Linked DNA regions of Homo sapiens: regions 1 and 2 are each linked to region 3. Evidence: promoter capture Hi-C in 16 types of primary human blood cells and fetal thymus (Javierre and others, 2016). All regions are on one chromosome and are shown on one strand. The core of a region is centred on a gene start or on the middle of the fragment in contact, and the rest is flanking DNA. Distances in the headings are between cores, read along the strand shown.

The links. The method cuts DNA at HindIII sites, captures the fragments that hold promoters and counts their contacts. A CHiCAGO score of 5 or more calls a contact.
Region 1: a fragment that was not itself captured here is called in contact with the fragment with the promoter of KCNB1 in region 3 in 2 of 17 cell types (endothelial precursors and M2 macrophages); the score reaches 7.7 in endothelial precursors.
Region 2: a fragment that was not itself captured here is called in contact with the fragment with the promoter of KCNB1 in region 3 in 3 of 17 cell types (endothelial precursors, M2 macrophages and M1 macrophages); the score reaches 8.1 in endothelial precursors.

The regions. Positions count from the first base shown.
Region 1 is chr20:49,391,643-49,395,676 of GRCh38, forward strand. The region is part of intron 1 of KCNB1 (potassium voltage-gated channel subfamily B member 1); the gene reads right to left. The region is part of intron 2 of LOC105372649 (a long non-coding RNA gene); the gene reads left to right. Among named protein-coding and RNA genes, the nearest start is that of KCNB1, 89 kb to the right of the region's middle. The HindIII fragment of the contact is 836 bases long and covers 1,229-2,064 here.
Region 2 is chr20:49,366,785-49,370,820 of GRCh38, forward strand. It overlaps KCNB1 (potassium voltage-gated channel subfamily B member 1), which reads right to left. Exons shown (of 2, transcript NM_004975.4): 2 at 1-4,036. All of the region lies in intron 2 of LOC105372649 (a long non-coding RNA gene), which reads left to right. Among named protein-coding and RNA genes, the nearest start is that of SNORD12, 88 kb to the left of the region's middle. RefSeq lists an enhancer at 1,837-2,390. The HindIII fragment of the contact is 761 bases long and covers 1,949-2,709 here.
Region 3 is chr20:49,479,718-49,484,087 of GRCh38, forward strand. KCNB1 (potassium voltage-gated channel subfamily B member 1) reads right to left here and starts at 2,951. Exons shown (of 2, transcript NM_004975.4): 1 at 2,197-2,951. The coding sequence starts at 2,763. The HindIII fragment of the contact is 15,223 bases long and covers 1-4,370 here.

The sequences.
Region 1 (4,034 bases), core at 397-2,896, 89 kb before region 3:
ACCTCGGCACCTTTTCATTTGCTGTTCCCTGGGCCTGGCCTGGAGAGACCTTTTCCTGCCACCTCCCCTGCCCCTTCACCAGTTTGCTTTCTTCCTTCTTTCGGGACTCAGTAGCAATGTCACCAGCTTTTCCTAGACTGAATTAAGTTGAGTCAGCCCTTTCATTGCCCTGTCACAGCAGTCTTTGTGAAGTTTCATCACTCGCCTTCTTAAAGTCCTCCAGTGGTGTCCTGCTGCACTTGAAACAAGGTCCAAACTCTTATGGAGGCTGCACGGCCCTGCCTGACTTGGCCCCTGTTGACCTCTCTGATCTCTTTTTCTCTGTGCTCTTGCACATAGTCACTCCCTTCCAGCCACACTGGCCACCTGTCTGCTCTTCCACATGCCAAGCCCACTCCTGCCTCAGGACGTTTGCACTTGCTGTTTCTCTGTCTAGAACATCCTCATCCCAGATTGTCTGTGACTGGCTCCTTCTTATCCCTCACAGTCTCTCCTTAGAGAGACTGTCCCTCACTGCCTGATTAAAAATACCTCTTCCTCAGTCACTCACTCTTGCTGCACTGTTTTACCTCCTTGGTGATTTGTCACAATCTGCAGTCATTTTTTTTTTTTTTTGACAGGGTCTCAAAAGGGTGCAGTGATGTTATCATGGTTCACTGCATCCTTGACCTCCCAGGCTCCAGCAATCCTCCCACCTCAGCCTCCTGAGTAGCTGGGACCACAGATGTGCGCCACAATGCCCAGCTATTTTTTTTTCTTTTTGTAGAGATAAGATCTCACTATGTTACCCAGGCTGGTCTCAAACTCTTGGGCTCAAGGAATCCTTCCGCCTCAGCCTCCCAAAGGGACGGGATTATAGATGTGAGCCACCATGCCTGGCCAAATCATTTTGTTTATTTGTTTGTTTACTCATTTATTTTCCGCTTCTCCACCAACCTAGGTTAGCACATCAAGGGCAGGGACTGTGTCTATTTCACAAGGCTGGGTCCCCACTGCCCAGCACAGAGCCAGATGTGGCATTGGCACTCAACAAATACTGGTGCACTAAATGACTGCCTGAATGAATGAACAGGTGAATGGTTTGTGAGTTGGTCAGTTGGATGGAGGGATGGATGGATGGATGGAAGTTTGGATGGATGGGTTTAGAAGCCATGACCCCAATCGGACCACCCAAATGCAATATGTTTACTGAGCACCCCTCCTATGCAAGGCACTATTGGAAAATGCAAGCTTGAATTAGCAGCTGGATGCCTGATACTAATGATATAATAACAGCTGAGATTTATTGATTTCTCACCAAAGCAGGCACTGCGCCAACTGCATTGCATGACCGATCTCATTTACTCCTTATATCAACCCCAGGAGGTAGATACTCTCGTAATTCCTGCTTTGCAATTGTGAAAACCAAGCCTCAAAAAGGTGAGGTTCCATTGGAGGAGGAAACATTTGGGCTGGGGCTTGAGGGCTAGAGATGGATTCCAGCAGGCAGAGATGGGAGTAGGGGTGTTCTAGGCAGAGGCAGCTGCATATTCAAAGGGTTGGAGGTGGGGAATAACAGTCAAGCCAGTTTGGCTAGGGCAGGTGTGCACACAGAGAGAAAACTGGCAAGAGGGGAGACCACCATTTACTGCACACCCGCGACATGTGAGGTACCAAAGCATTTATTCACCATCACCCCAGGAAGTAGCTCCTCTTTTCACCTTCATTTTTCAGAGGATGGATCTGAGGCTTGGAGCCCCTAAATAACATGCCCAGAGCCACACAGCAGGATTAGGACTTGAATTCATGCCTGTCTCACTCTGAGGCTGGGTCAGAGATGGATAGTCAGAGGTTCAGGAAGGAGTTGACAAGGCTGGCTATGGAGTAACTGAGCATGTACTGGGAGCCAGGCACAGCATACTATCTCAATTAATCCTCACAAGTACCCAGGAGGTAGGTATTAGTGTGGTGGATATGTTTTTGGATAGTTTAGCATCATTTTTTGGGAATTGTTCCTCCTCCACAATCACGCATTAAGTGAAGTTGACCCTGTTTCTCCGTTTCAGGGGGTAAGAGTGAGATCCAAGCTTACCAGTTAGGATAATTCATCTCCCTGGCCACAGGGATTACTTTAGTAGTGTGGGCATGACTAAAATTGGTCAATCAGGGTTCATCCTGGAACTTTTTCTCAAATTATTGGGAAAGAGGTGGTCTCTTTCATCAGGGGCTGTTGGGTTAACAGGATATCAACCAGAAGTGGCTGGAGGGTCAACTCTGGCTCTCTGGGGAAAAAAAATCTGCCCAAGAGTGTAGCCAAAGCAGAGGGACTCTGTGCCAAGACACAAAGACAGGTTTCTAATGACATTATTTGAGCACCTGGATCCAGCCATCCCTGAAGCCATCCCTTTGGATTTTCCAACAATATGAACTGATGAATGCTCTTTTTGGATTAGGCCAGTTGGGCTGGATTTCTGACCCTTGCAAATAAAAAGTGATCTGACTGAACAAAATTGTTATCTTAATTTTACAGGTGAGAGAGCTAAGATTCATAGAGGTAAAATGACTTGCGTTTAGGATCCACAGGAAGGAAGGGGCTGAATCACACTGAGATATCACAAAGAAAGTGCATGGCATCTACCAGGTCCTCAAGAAATGCCTGTTCCCTTCTTCCATAGATCAAGGAGTGGTGGAGAGAAGGACGGGAGGAGGTATACCCACTGGTGGAAGCTCCCCCATGAGCCGCAAGCTTCTGGGCAGATTCTAGATTGCATCTGGAATCCTCCAAACTCTCCCAGCCTGCACTGGGGTCTGGCAGGAGCAACCAAAGCCCAGGAGTTGACACATAAAGTGAACAAGCGGTCAGATGTCAGCATTTGAACAAAATTCCTGAGGATCCCACTCTCTCCAAAAAAGTGTCATCTAAGAGCCCTGGCTGCAACACAGGGTTTCCATAGAAGGGCCAGAAGTCTTAGCACTTCTCAGGGCTTACGCTTAGTAGGATCTTGTACAGATAATTGTTTCAGTACCACCAAGGATTCTGTGGTCACTTGAACTTCTCAAAGCTCCTTCATATTGAAACTGGATAGAGAGTAAGGGGTTAGCCTACAAACTTTGACTTTGGACAAAGTTGGGTTCCAATCCTGGCCCTTGGCAGCTGGGTGACTTTCGGTACATTACTTAACCTCTCTGAGTCTCCCGTGTGAAACAGGCAGAATCGGAAGATGAAGTCAGACAAAACAGGTAGACACTCTTAGTACAGAGTTTGGAACCACTTCAGCTTTTGGGCAAGCAGATTAGTTCTAGATATAGGTTGAACTCTGGCATGTATGATCACATTAACTCTCTGAGCCTCAGCTTCCTCATCTGTAAAATGGGGCTCAGAATAATACCCCCTGCACAGGTGGTTGTCAGGCAGCAATGAAATCATGCATGGAAAATGCGTACCCCAGGGTACGCATGTGAACCGAGGACACCCTGCCAGCAGGACGGCCCCCCACTCATCCACCGGCAGGGAGTTTTGGCCCACACAGTGAATTCGTTGCCAATATTTATTTTCCCTATGAATTCACATTTGAGCTTCTCAAGAAAAATCTGAAGCTCTGGGTACTCTTGGTCCACGCTGCTCCGTGGCAAGCCCAGGCTGCCGCTGCGCGGTGTTAAGTCCAGTCCTGTACTCTAAAATCTCACGTGCACCCTGTGCGTGTTGTTTATGAGGCTCGCTTGGCTTCTGCAGGAATCTGGTTTGGGAGCCCAGGAATAAATCATTAGACGTGTAGCCAGCGATGAGGGAAAAGATTAAACAGTGCCAGAGAAGCAGTCATGGGTTCCTTAGGGAATGCTGGGCCAAGAGCTGGGTCCGCGAGATGCCCTGGATCAGGAATATGCGGATGGAATCCCTGCCTGGGCCAGCCCCTCATCCATCCGTATATGGCTGCAGAGAAGCCATGTTGCTGCTTCCTTAGAGCCCCTGGCTGCATTTTCCCCTCGTCTCTCCTGCTTCTAGACTGCTCTGAAGCTCCTCCTAGTCCCCACCGCTCATCCTACCACACCTCAGT
Region 2 (4,036 bases), core at 1,079-3,578, 110 kb before region 3:
CATAGGCAACAGTGTTTGCTTATCTGGGCATCAAACCCAGGAAACTACTGGCAGACTTTTTTTTGTTTTGTTTTTTTGCTTTTGTGCAGAGGAAAAAAAAATCTTGTCTGTTTTATTTGACTCTGGTTCAAACCAGACTATCAGAGGTTTTCGGGGTGGGAGAACTCTGATCAGGGTCATAGTCCAGAATAATAAAATTCATATTTGAGTTGGCTTCCTCTTGGGAGTTATCTGATGGGATGGCTCACTGCCATCTGAGGGTCCCAGTTTGGCTCAAATTTCTGATTCTAGGCAGAGCCCCAAGCCCTGCAGCTGACAGTGAGGTGGGTGGTATACCAAAACCTAAACGAATGCAAGTTGGAGATTATCTGGGCTTTCTTCATCTTCCTGCATGAGTTGACGGATGGAGAATCACTTTCTGCTGAAGATCCTGCCTAGTGAGATGTCCTCCGCCCACCCAGGACTGAAAACTGCCTCTGGAATTAATTATCAGGACAGTCCAAAAACTCCCCCAGGCGTGGATAGGTGGAAGCTGGAAAACTGCCCCTGTCCTTGCCACACACCTCCTGCTCTATGGAGCCAGGCAGCTGGCAAGGGAAGGGGAGATGAGCTAGCAGATTCGGGGACATCTCTTCTCAGGGTTTGGCTGCAAGGGTGTCTGGCCACTGTTTTTTGGTGAAGCTGTTAGAAATGGATTGAAATGGACTGGGTGCAGTGGTGGCTCACACCTGTAATCCTAGCACTGGGAGGCCGAGGCAGGCAGATCACCTGAGGTCAGGAGTTCAAGACCAGCCTGGCCAACATGGAGAAACTCTGCCTCTACTAAAAATACAAAAATTAGCTGGGCGTGATGGTGCGCTCTTGTAATCCCAGTTACTCAGGAGGCTGAGACATGAGAATCACTTGAACCTGGGTGGAGGAGGTTGCAGTGAGCCGAGATTGCGCCATTGCACTGCAGCCTGGGCAACAGAGCAAGACTTTGTCTCAAAATAATAATAACAAAAAAATAAATAAATAAACAGATCGAAACAAGGAACTGATAAACAAGTTGGTGAGATCGGAGGCCCAGCATGTTCTTGTGAGGTTCACGAGAACCTGAAAAACCTCTGACCTTCAGCTCTGATTGATGTTACAGGCCGACAGGGTGCTGGACATGTGGGAGCAGCCCAGCCAGGAGGGACTCACATGTGTTCTGGATCTCAGAAATGCCAGTGATGAGTTTGCTTGCATGAGATTTTTGGTTCCAAGATCTCTGGGGATGAGAAAACTCAGTCCCTTCAGATCCCTAAAGGGGTGTGGGATATAAGTGAAACCAGCCCACATCCCATCCTGATTTTGAGGGCCATCTGTAGCTCTGCTTCCCTGGGTCTCATTCCTGCATTCATGCCCTGGATTCTTAAGAACAACGAATGGGAGAAACACACAGAAATGAATGAGGAAAGTCACAGCATTGACAGAGTCCAGGCCTAGTGTCAAGAAATGCCTACACAAGGAAGTCAAACCCCAAAGTCTTTCCCCACCCTCAAGAAATCAGAATCAAAAGGAAGAAAACCCAAACAGCCCAAGGGACAATGGTAGGAACTGCAAAAGACCAGAAAACATCAGCTACGATAATGACCAACAATGAAACTCCTAAGATATTGTTCTGTATTACAAAAGAAGAAATTAGACTCAATTGCCCTATTATAAATTTGCTAAAAATACATATATATATATATTTTATCTGAACAGAAAAATAGACTACTCTGAGATGCGTGGACATTCTATGACATAGTCGCGCATCAGATACTTCTAGAGCCAGAAAAATGGCAACAGAAAATGCAGAGGTAACTCTTATTTCTGGGTGTAGCCAGGACTGGTTTGGGTTGCCTGGGCTGAGTGACATGAAAGCATTTGGATGCTGTCCTATAAGCAGTGATAGGTGAGGAAACATCAGCTCGGGGCTGGAAGCTTTCCATTGTCCTGCCGGGGTCTCAGGGGAGCCCCTTCTCCCTCCTGCCCACTCTGCAGCTACAGAAAAAGTCCTTTCCCAAAGAAGCATGTCCGGAGGCTTTTTGCCTTGCTCTCTTTTGATTCAAAGTTACTTGAATTGAGGCTGAAAAAAAGCCTGGGGTATTGTTACTTGAGATTAGTTGGTAGAGAAATAAGAATAGGAGAGAGATTAGCGATAGAGACCTGGCTTTAGTGGCTCTTGTCCGTGGTGAATTTTAAATATCCCCTTGTCCATGGAACTAGACACTCCAGCTGGGACTGGAGCAAGACAGAAATATACAATAGTTACAAATATCAACAATACATTACAGTTTTACAGAAGAGAATACTGTTTTGTTTTTCTCCTTAGAAACATGGATCTTATTAGGAGAAAGGGCAGAGACGAGGCTACAGTTACCAAGACACATGGAGAAGCTGGAAGTCAGTTTGAAAAAGTTTGTATCACCAGCAGTTTTCAGGGGCAAGCTGGGTGGGTTAAAAGAAATGGCCTCCTCAGGATTTTGTTGTTTTTCCTTCTTACTCTTCTTCCTTCTTGATCCCCAGTCCTTTGGAGAAAGGGACTTCACGGGAACAAATGTTCTCTCCTCCTTTTTTCTTTCCCCTTGAAGTGTGCTTAAGATAGAATTCCTAAAGAAGGCACTGAGAAATCTACTGCACCAAAGTCCTGTTGGTTTCTTTTACCCAAAGATAAAAAGGTGAATATACTGTCTCCTCCAAAGCTTCCCCACCTCTCTCACCGCCGGTGGCAGACTCTCCCCCGTGTGATTGGGACACATGGCTACCTGGTCCCTAGCCCTTTCAGATAATTGTGGAAGTTGGAATGCAAGTTCAGCTGGGTTCTTGATGAGTTTCAGTGAATTTGCCAAACTGACCAGCATCCATTCGCCGCGTCCAGCCCCTAGTTTGCTTGTTTGGGTTGACTTGTTTCTTTCTGCTCTCATTGGTTCAGGAATGAATGGGAAATGGACCACCAAGTTAAAGCAGGATTTGCCTTCAGACCATTGCTTTCCTCTTCTCTTCTCTATCAAGACCTTTCTATCGAGTGAACTTCTCAGTGAAGACTCTTAAGTAGATTTCCCAGTGCATGTATATTCACGTACATAGGTACAGGTTGGGTGTATACATATTAAAATTTGGATATGTTCTTTTTTAGCGGGTGGATGGGCTGGGAAAACTTATAATACTCTCTTTCGAATTGAGCACAGAATAAAAGCTATACTCCCCCAGTACATACACACACAAGTAAAAGAAAAAAAAACCCAATCAAACCCAAACAAAATACTTTCTAAGCATAGTATATGCTGAATTTCAATTATTCTGTTTCTATAAGAACTCTATAGGACTCTGGCTATGAAGCCTGAAAAGGTAGGTTCTTAATGATACTTCTGAATTCGTCCTTCAAAAGTGACTCAATAAAATGCTACTTTACGGTTGGACAAAATACACAAGGAAGGAAGGGCCAGGTCCTACATGACCACAGAAGGCAGAAAGGGCCTTTGGTTACAAGGAGAGTTGCACCAATTGGTTTTCGTTTTTTTTAAAAAAAAAAAAAAACAAATCATTTTCAATCTGTACAGTTCTCATCTGCTTCAACCAACAAATGAAATGCCTCGATTGGAAGAAGGGGTGGTAAGTTCCTTCTCAATATATATGGCTATATTGAAACATGTTCACTTTCCTGATATGTAAAATAGACTATATTATTATTATTATTATTTTTTACAGATAGCATCAGCTCTAAAAATATCTGAATTGGAAATCACAACTATTTACTTTTATCAAAAAGCATTTGTTTTTTTCCCTGAATTTTCACATTTGTGCTGATGGTGGACATTAATGGTGATGAAAACAAAGAAGAGACATGTGAGATGGTCGGCGGAGAACTGTCCCACAGTCATTCCTCAAGAGGCCCCCAGCTCAGACTGCGTGTTCAGCAAAGTGTTTTGGGAGTGCTGCTTCCTCTGCCTGGCACGGGATGACCTCACACTCTCCCTGCCCCTAAGTCCCTTTGCAGTTGCTGCGCGAATACTCTGAAGATACCTAG
Region 3 (4,370 bases), core at 1,701-4,200:
GCTCACTTTGGCTGCTATGTGGGGAATGGATTGCAGGGGCAAAAGTGGAAGCCGGGAGACTGGGGAGGAGGCTGCGGCACTTGATCATTATAGAAAGAACACTCGGTTTGGATTTCTGGCTACTCCTGACTGCCTGTGGTGTGACCTTAGGCAAGTTACTTAACCTCTTTCAGCCTCACTGTTTGCGAAAGGTGGGATAATAACAGAGCTGCGTTGTTACACTCCATACACAGTAGGTGTTTGATCATTGGCAGCCAGGATTTCTATTCTGAGGGCCAGTGAGCCTGCCTCCCTCCCCATTTCAGCTCTGGCTACAGAAAATCCTAGATGGTCCATCTGCCAGGAATGTGAGCTGGCAGCCCCAGACTGGGATCATGGAGAGGTCACAAGGCTGTCCCTGCTAGCGGATTAACCCAAGGGAGAGGAGAGGTTCTTTATTCCCAAACAGCACCTCTTGCAAGCCCCGGTGCTTGGGTCTTGCTGCCAGACCAAAACATGGCCCTGTGCCTGCTTCTTCTCTGGGAGGGCAAATTGTCCAGTTCCCTGTACCTTGTTCTCATGTCTTAGGGATGGGACAGGGAGGGAGAGTCACATTTGGGCCTAAATGGGATGTGCAGTGGGAGAACCTGTGTCATGCCTGGAAATAGCAAAATAAGTCTGTTGATCCTAAGCTGATTAAGGGTGAGTGACTCTGTCTTAGGAGGAGGCTTTTTGGACACAAAATTGGGGGCGGGATTATGGAGAGAGACAGCCCACAGCCTCAGAGGAGGAAGCCAGGCCCAGGAGCCTCTACATCCTTGTTAGGGCCAACAGGGAAACGAAAAAAACACGTGGGGGCTCCCTCCACCCTCTTACCAGCCACCCCTTCTCCATCCACTCTCAGGGGCCTCTCCTTGGGTGGCTAGATCTGGAGGAAGGACCCCACGGAGTCTCCCTTCAGACTGGGACCTGCAGGTGGGCCTTCAGTGAGAACTGAGCCGGAGACCCCACAATGAAAGGCTGGGCTGGACAGGAGTCAGCCCTAGCTAGTAAGATATGGCTGGATATTTAGGCTTCCTCCTCTCCTCTTTCTTTTACCACAAATCTACTTACCTGACCCCTTTTTTTAGGCCCCACACTCAGTTACATTCTCCCCATGTTTCCCAAGTTGGTCTTGCTGGATTTCAACATCAACATCTCTCTTTTCTGGGTTCTCCGTGAACCTCACAGAACCTCTTTTATAGCCTTGCACACACTGTTTTGTCATTTGCTCCCAGCACCCAGCACTTCGGGCACATGAAGACAGGCCCCATCTTTCCCAGGCAACCCCAAATCCCAGCCTGACGTAGAGAAGTTGCTGATCAACCAGTGCCCTCCTGCCCTGCCTTGGCTCCCACCCCAAGCCTTCCTCAGTCCCCTACAGCCCCTGCCATTACCCAGCAGCACCAAAGACTCTCTGGCCCACTCTTTGTGTTCAAACTCATTCCTGCCTCCTCCTCCTCCTCCTCCTTTATTTTTCACATTGCCTCATTTTTCTCTCCTATTTTGAAATTTACATCTTGTTCCAAGAGCTGAAACATCTTTACAAGCTGCACCAAACCATTCTGGAAATAAACTCACCAAATAAATAAGTAACCAGGGGGTGACCCCTCACCCGCAAGCATCCACAACCAACTGCATGTGTCGTGTGGGTCCACACCCACCCCTCGGGGTCCCTTCTTACTTATGTTTAAACTATCTGACAGTATCTCAATGTCCTGTAAGCATGTCTGTAAGCTGCTTTTTTCCCTTGCTGGGGCAGAGTGAGGTTATAAATATGGAGATATTAAAATCACAGGGTGATCCAATCCAGCCTAGGTCTGGGACTTCACAGGGAAGCAAACCCTACTCCACCCCAGCAAGCCACTGTTGTCTCTCTGTGCTCTCTCTCTTATTCGTCAGTGTCCATCTTCTTGCTGTGGCTTTTTATGGGTCCCTGTGAAACCTCTCCAACCAAGTAGGGGTATAACGTCTTGGATAATAAAAAGATGGAGTGACCAGTGCCACATGGGAAAAGTCTGAGGGGGTTGGTCCTCACCTCTGGGGACTCAGTCCTAGCCCCTCCCCATTACTAATCTTCATCGTTGGGAACAAAGCCAGAGTCCTCCAGCAGTGGTCCTCAATATGGGGATGCAAGCAGATCCCCCCAGACCAGCAGCCCCCAGATCCCAGACTCACCTTGGCAGCCACAGAGGAATTGGGCTTCTCCAGTAGGTCCCAGAGTTTTTTCCTCTTCTCTGCGCAGCACGTGTTATCGAACTCCTCGCCTTCCCGCTCCCGTAGGGTCTCGGCCTCACGCTTGAGCTCCTCGTTCATCTGCTCTTTCTTCTGGTGGTAGCGGGCCTGGCAGCAGGACTCCAGGTAGATCTCGTCGATGCCCCAGTAGTCGAGCTCTTGGCTGAAGCTGAGCGCGCACATCTCCTCCATCATGTGCAGTCGCCCAGTGCGGTAGAAGTTGAGGATGGAGGTGAAGGCGCCCGGGTGGCGGTCAAAGAAGTACTCGTTGTCGTCGAGGCTGTAGTCATCGCACACCTCGAGCAGCGAGTCGTGCGTGTTGCAGTCGCGGAGCTTGCCCAGCCGCGTGCGGGGCAGGCGGTCCAGGGTACGCCAGAGTACCTCGTGCGCCAGCCCCCCGACGTTGAGGCGGACCCGCCGAGAGCACGCCTTGCTGCGCACGATCTCCATGGGCTCGGGCGGCAGCGAGCTGGTGGAGCGGGAGCCATGCTTCGTCATGCCCGCCGGCATCGCTGATCCGGCCGCCCCCGCCCCCCCTGCCCCCCCAGGCCGCTGTCACTCGACGGCAAGGCCCGCTGCTGCGGGGGAGGGGGGCAGGGAGCGCTGTGGGCTGCTGGGGGTGCAGGGGGCCCCGCGGGCGCGCGTCACGGCCGTCTTCTCACCTCCATCCCGACGGCTGCGAGGCAGAAAGCGAAAGCGGACGCGGGTCAGCAAACGGGGAGCTGGGCATGCTGTCCCCCCGCCCCCCACCTCTCCACCAGGCTCCCAGCCGGCCTTGACCTTCCCCCGCGCTTAAGCGGCTCAGTGGGGTAGGACGGATGGTCGCTGTCCCTCCCGCCGGTGCTGAAGTCCGCCGCACCCCATGGATGGAGGGAGGGGCCGCCCCTCGGGGCGGGGAGAGGGCCCCAAGAGATGCCCCTGGAGCCCGGGAGGCCCCACCCTGGGCTTCTGCGGCCCAGGCGCGACCCAGCCGCCCGGGGCGCTGTCCGCCCCTTAGAGTGCTGAAACTCTCTTCATTATGGGTCTCCCGATCGAGTCCCGAACCTGGCCCCGCCATGGGGAGAGAGGGGGAGCTGCATGAAAACTTTCTTTCTTTATCTTTTTCTTTCTTTCTTCTTCTTCTTTCCTTCTTTTTTTTTTTTTTAACGAGTTCTCTTCTTTTCCTTCCCCTTCTCGAGATAATCAAGATTTTGGGGGTGGGGGAATGGCAGCGGGCTTTTTTCCAAATCTTAAAAGATTTGGGGGAATTCCGGGGGTTCCAGGTGCCCACCTGTCCGAGGTCACAACAGACGGGGTGTGCACAACAGCCCCTCTGTCCTGGAGCGACCCCTCTTCCCAAACACTGGAGCATCTCCTGAGATTGCTCCAGCGACAAGGTGAGCCGCGAGGAGGAAAAGCCCGCTCTCGCCTCTCCCTCTGAGCCCCCAACCCTACCGCAGGAGGGGCGGGCAGAGTCCTCGGGATCCGCCTGCTCCGTCCTCCCCTCGCTCCTTCCCCGCCCCCTTCTCCTCCTTCTCCTCCCCCTCCTCTTCCTTCTCCCCCTCCTCCTCCTCTTCCTCCTCCTCCTCCTCCTCCTCCTACTCCTCCTCCTCGTTCCTCTCCCGCGATGGCTTTTTATAACTCCGGGTTCTGCGCCTTTCCCCGGGCTTGGAAGGGAAGGGGTGGGGGAGGTGGGAGGCGGGGAAATGAGCTAAATTTTCTGGCCTTTTCAAAAGGTGCCATCCTCCTACCGCGCACTAGTGATTTCGGGGGGTTCCCCTGAGCACCCCCTGCATGTAGGGCTCACGCCTTAGCCCCAGAATGGGGATTGCGCGTCCCCTCAGGCCTCAGCCCTTGCCTGCCTCCCACCCCGCTCCCCTCCAGCCTGGAGCTGCGGAGCCCGAGCAGACCAACAGGCCGAGCTGCGGCAGGCAAACCCCCTGTCCGTGTCCCCATGCACCCCCACGGAAGGCCGTACGCCCCAACACTCACCCCCAGGGCGGCCGCCTCCTGGGGCCAGGGACCGCGCATCGTCCCGGCCGCCCGGGCGCCCCCGCCCGTGGGCAGCGGCGGTCCCGGGGCCGGGCTGAGCCGGGCCTACCCCGGCCGGGCAGGCAACTCGCCCGGGCTGCAGGCGC